Linked DNA regions of Homo sapiens: region 2 is linked to region 1. Evidence: promoter capture Hi-C in human tissues and cell types (Jung and others, 2019). All regions are on one chromosome and are shown on one strand. The core of a region is centred on a gene start or on the middle of the fragment in contact, and the rest is flanking DNA. Distances in the headings are between cores, read along the strand shown.

What was found. The method cuts DNA at HindIII sites, captures the fragments that hold promoters and counts their contacts. A contact is called where the count stands out against the background at its distance.
Region 2: a fragment that was not itself captured here is called in contact with the fragment with the promoter of GGT5 in region 1 in 10 of the 25 tissues and cell types used here (aorta, bladder, dorsolateral prefrontal cortex and 7 more).

The regions. Positions count from the first base shown.
Region 1 is chr22:24,243,790-24,246,489 of GRCh38, reverse strand. It overlaps GGT5 (gamma-glutamyltransferase 5), which reads left to right and starts at 1,408. Exons shown (of 12, transcript NM_004121.5): 1 at 1,408-1,937. The coding sequence starts at 1,765. RefSeq lists enhancers at 1-403, 1,516-2,071, 2,072-2,627. The HindIII fragment of the contact is 14,830 bases long and covers 1-1,613 here.
Region 2 is chr22:24,059,009-24,061,767 of GRCh38, reverse strand. CABIN1 (calcineurin binding protein 1) reads right to left here. Exons shown (of 37, transcript NM_012295.4): 11 at 2,405-2,541; 12 at 1,627-1,844. Among named protein-coding and RNA genes, the nearest start is that of CABIN1, 49 kb to the right of the region's middle. The HindIII fragment of the contact is 4,065 bases long and covers 1-2,759 here.

The DNA.
Region 1 (2,700 bases), core at 159-2,658:
CCTGACCAGGATGGTGGGGAGAGGAGGGGGGACGTCCCCCACGCTGCTGTCTCCACTGTTCCTGCTGCCCAGGCCTCTGAGCTTCCAGGACTGCAGCGGGTGGGTGGGTGGGCTGGCCTAAGCCCAGGAATGCACTTCAGCTCCTGGTTGAGCAATGTCACTGAGGCTTGGGAGTCGGGTGGGGGCGGGAGGAGGCATCCACAGGCCCCCCACCGCGAGAGGCAGCCGTGGGAACAGCCTGCCTCTAAACAATCATTCCAGTCCAGGCTGACCAGGGGCTCTGGCTGGACATAGGGGCCTGGCAGGCTGTGTGGCCTGTAAGGACACAGTCTGTCTCTGTGCCTCAGTTTCTCTGCTGCCCAGATGGGGGGGCCCGGCTTCCAGGTGTAGACATCTGGAGCAGGCAGTGTTCAGCTGGGGAGGAAGCGGGGAGGACTGTGGGGGCCACGTGGGAAGAAGTCCAGCCCACATCACCTGCACCCCTGCTGAGCCTGGTCAACAGAGCCCCTCAGTGGGTCCTCACTCTCCTGGCTGCCTCCCATTTAGGCACCCTGAGGCCTGGGGAGAACAGAGCCAGGCCAGTGTCCCTAGAGAGGCTGCGCTGCCAGCACAGTAATAGCGGATTTGGATTCAGGGAAGCAGACCCGCAGCTAGGGTGGGAAAGAGCTACAGGCAGGGCGTGGCCTCCACACAGCCTCCCTCCCTGGAGGTCCATGCTGCATTTCCAGGACAGCAAGTCCTGGACAAATGGTCCCGGATGCCAAGGGCTAGAGGCATGGTCTGTCTGCATTCCCCACATGGGCGTCTTGTAGTCACCAGCATTTGATGCTGTCAAGTCCCCCTGTCCTCTGTGCAGACTGGGAAGCCCTTGGCCACCCTGGGGAGTTGTGGGACCCAGGCCAGGCTGCAGAAGCATAAGGACTTGAACCCAAGTTTTAAGTGACACCACCTTGTGTCCCCCTCCCTCTGCCTCTGTTCAGCTCCACCTTGATGCTGACTAGGCTGGGCCATGAGGAGAGGGTTAGGGGATAGAGATGGGAGCTGGGGAGCAGGGCTCCACTCTGGGAGGGGGGCAGCCTTGCCGGATCCAGGGGAGAGAGTTGAGCGGCCCCAGCTCTGCTTTCCCAGAGCTGCCGGGAACCCGGGGAATGGTGTGGAGGTTCCAGGGAGCCCTGCCCCTACCTGGCAACCGCAGTGCAGCAGGCACCAAGTTCTCCTGCACATTGCGACAGTGTGACCCTGGGCTCTGGCGGGCGGTAGGTGGGGCCTTTGGACCTACTAGCAGTGAGGGAGTTAACACAGCAGCTGACTCCTCTAGGCAAGGAAAACTCCCCTCAGACGCTTTGCTGCCTGGCCTCCTGCCAGCAACAAGCAGGAGCTGAAAACCAGAAGTTGAGGCGTGAGTTTGGCCACTCCGTAGTGTGCACTTGGTGAGGGCAGCAGCTCGCCACAGCTGCCAGCCATCTGTCCATTCACCCATCTGTCCATCTGGCAGCCCGCTGTTCAGACCTGTCTGTCTGTCCGCCCATCTGTAAGCCCATCTCTGTCCCATTGTCTATCTGACCATCTTTCTCTTACTGTCCTCTTTGTCTAGCTATCTGGCCTATCTGTCGATCCATCTTCGTGTCTGTCTTCAGCCCCCACCTGTTTGTCCATCTGTCCAATTACCTGTGACTCTGTGCATCTTCTTGTCCATTCATCTGCCCACCCATCCGTCCCTCCGTCTGCCCACCAGCCGCCCCTCTCCTCCTGGGCTGCAGAGCCATGGCCCGGGGCTACGGGGCCACGGTCAGCCTAGTCCTGCTGGGTCTGGGGCTGGCGCTGGCTGTCATTGTGCTGGCTGTGGTCCTCTCTCGACACCAGGCCCCATGTGGCCCCCAGGCCTTTGCCCACGCTGCTGTTGCCGCCGACTCCAAGGTCTGCTCGGATATTGGACGGTGAGTGAGACGTGGGAGGAAGCTGGGTGGCCCTTGGCAGCCAGCCCCTCCTGGAGAAGGCGTGTGTGTGTGTGTGTGTGTGAGTGAATGTATGTGTGGGTGTGTGTGTGAGTGTCTGGGTATGTGTGATTGCATGCATGTGTGGGTGTGTGTGAGTGTATGTGAGTGTGAGTGTGGGGAGTGTGGGTGTGTGTGAATGTGTGTGATTGTGTGTGGGTATGTGTATGTGTGGGTGGGTGTGTGTGTGTGTGTGTGTGCACGTGCACTGGCCCAGGAAGCAGGAGCCGTGTGTGTGTGGGCTTCAGCACCTGCAGGTCTTGGGCGCAAGGAGGCAGCCTCAGGGCCCTTGCACAGAACAGGTGGCAGGGTGTGCTCGTGGGGCAGATGGGGACTTGGGGACAATGGTGGTGTGTGAGTCCACGCCTGGCTCCAGGATTCAGGAGGCCCATTTGCATATCCCAGGTGGGAACCTGTCTGGCCCCGCCTGACCCTGCTGGCCGGTGCAGGCCCCTTCAGTGAGGCCAATTCTCCAAGGCTGCGGTCTTCTCCCAGGGTCATGGGTGAAGGGGTTTGGAGGCTCCCTGCGTGGGTACTGGCCTGCTGGGGTACACACAATGCTGCCATAGCCAGTCTGCCCCAACACCCAGCCTGGGGCCACATCTCGGGTCTCTCAGTCCTGAGGAGCCCGGTGCCCCACCCCTCACATCCTCTCTCCCTGAGTCAGGGCCTGGGTCTCGTGAGCTGAGTGACTGATACTTGGTGT
Region 2 (2,759 bases), core at 202-2,701, 180 kb after region 1:
ACATGGATGTATGTTGGGACAAGACTTGGGAGAGGCCAGGAGACCGGTCTTCAGAGTTCTTGTCCTGTTGAAGAGGCAGCCCTGTCACCTGCCAAGTGCTGGGACGGACACTGCATCCAAATTATAGAACTCAACCCTTAAAAGTTCTGGGCAGCTGGTATACCATTCCCAGGGCACTTGAGGAAGCTGAGGCTCAGTGATGAGAAGGCACTTGCCCATTGGGCACAGCTGGAAGGTGATCATCAGCCTGCTTTGCCTGGGGATCAAAGCCCTGGTTCCTCCTGCTGTTTCACAACTGCCCCAGGGGAGCATGGCCTGGTGGGCAGAAGCTGCCAGGAGGTTGCCCTGAGGTAACTCAGTGGAGGGTGCCCACCAAGGGATGACTGACCTACAAGCTCTTCTACCTCCTGTGCTCTCAAGTCAGAAAGACCACCAGGCATCCCTGAATGTTCCTGGTGCTCCTGCTTCAGCATTCAGTGTCCCACCTCCAACAGGAGTAAGGGGCCAGAGCACCTTGTGTTCCCTTGAGCTCCAGGAGGCACCAAGTGGAGGAGGCTGGGGTGTGGAATGCAGCAGGAAGACAAGGCTCAGTGAGGCTCAGCCCCCTACTGCTGGTGGCCCCCAAAGCTTCTCTAAGCACGCTATTTAGCTTCTGCTGTTTTATCATCTGTTAAAAATAGTCATAGGCCAGGCATGGTGGCTCCCGCCTGTCATCCCAGTGCTTTGGGATGCCAAGGCATCAGGATCACTTGAGCCCAGGAGTTCCAGACCAGTCTGGGCAACATGGCAACATGGCAAGACCACATCCTAACATCGTAACAAAAGGAGACCCCCATCTCTACAAAACAAAACAAATTTTTTTTTTTTGAGACAAGAGTCTCGCCTTGTCGCCTAGGCTGGAGTGCGGTGGCGCCATCTCGGCTCACTGCAAGCTCCGCCTCCCGGGTTCACACCATTCTCCTGCCTCAGCCTCCTGAGTAGCTGGGACTATAACCGGGTGTGGTGGTGTACGGCTGTGGTTCCAGCTACTTTGAAGGCTGAGGTGGGAGGACTACCCGAGCCCAGGAGGTTGAAGCTGCAGTGAGCCGTGACTGCACCACTGCACTCCAGCCTAGGCAACAGAGCAAGACCCTGTCTCAAACAACAACAACAAAAGCCTCAGTCACAGTCCTTGCCAACTCAAACAAACCAAATGTTTCCCTTTCCTCCAGCTTCTCCTGGCAAGGCTTCCTGTGACTCAGTAAACAACCCGAGAAGCCCTCCCCATGACTCTCATTCCCTCACACATCCCATGTCTAGTTCAACCTATCAGCTCTGCAACCACAAACCAGCACCCCACTATTACCACTGGATCTCAGCCACTGCTCCCCTGGCATGGCAGCAGCCTCCTGATAGCCCCGTGAGCCCACTCTCACCCCTAAGTGTATCCTCCACTCAGCCATCAGGGAGCTTTCTAGGCACAAACTAGGTTCAGTGACTTCCTGCTTCGACACCCACAAAAAAACCAGGTTCCAGGCCCACAAGTAGATGCAGCCAAACACAACAGCAGCCCCACACCCATGCAAGATCCCTGTCCCCATGCCCTGGTCCCAGTTCAATACCAGCCCTTGAGAGGCTCCCCCTAACCTTGATGTGCTTGTTGCTGCAGTCCCTCAGCAGCGGGTTGGGCAGGCTGGTGCTGTGCCTCCTCCAGCTGTGGTAGACGCTGAGCACGACCTCCGCCAAGCCTGGAGGCCACCTTACCAAGAACTTGTGGCCCATGGCTTTCAGGTAGCGCATCATCAGCTCCAGGATGCCCCCGTTGGTTAGGTTCTCCAGCAGGAACTCATGCACGTCCTGCTTTTCTGCCCGGGGAGCAAGAACAACCTGACTTGAATAAAGAGTACCTTCCATGCCAGGGTCTCCTATTTACTTTGGGACAGTAAAGACTGTTCCCTCCCTCTACCATCTGATCCAGGTGGACATGATACCACGTTGTGGTGCTGAGATCAGGCTACTGGGTTCAATGCCTGGCTCCAACCCTCAGCAGCTATGATTGAGCCTCTCTGAATCTCCGTATCTAAGGTGGACATCAAAAGGGCAGACCTCCAAGTGCTGCCATGTGCACTAATCTCACTCAACAGTTATACACTGATACACACTCAACAGGTGTGCTTATATAGATTCAATTTGCAAAGCGAAGTCTCTGAATTTGGCCATAAGAAAGCATAGCAAGTATGAGCCTGGACATTTCAGAAGACCTCCAAGCTGACCACAGGGCTTAGGTCCAAGACTAATCCAGGCAGACTCTTGGCCACACTAAAAAACACCCCAGAACCATTCTCCCAGAACAAAACATAAGCAGGTTATAGGATAGTGGGAAGAAGAATTCCCAAAGTGAATGGTCACACTGCTCGATTCCTACCAGATTCCATGAATGTGGCTGAGTCAAATGACAGCCTTTGAGGCCCAATGCTTGGGAAGCTTTCCAGTTTGGCTTCTGACTGGACTTCATAGTTATTAAAGGAATCATCTTCCTCCTCAGGGTCCAGCTTTCTTAACCTGCATGTAACATGCCAAAATCACAAAGTCACAACACACGTTCTGACACAAGCATCTGAACTCTTCCTGTTAGAGAAACTAAATCTGAGTCAGGAAGAAGGCAGCTAAAATAAGTGGGTGGTGGGGTCCAGAACCCAGGCCTCCAGGAGGCTCTGCCTCTCTCCAGGGCCTCATGAGCCAGCATTTGGTCTGTATCCTGTCTCGGTCATTCATCTCAT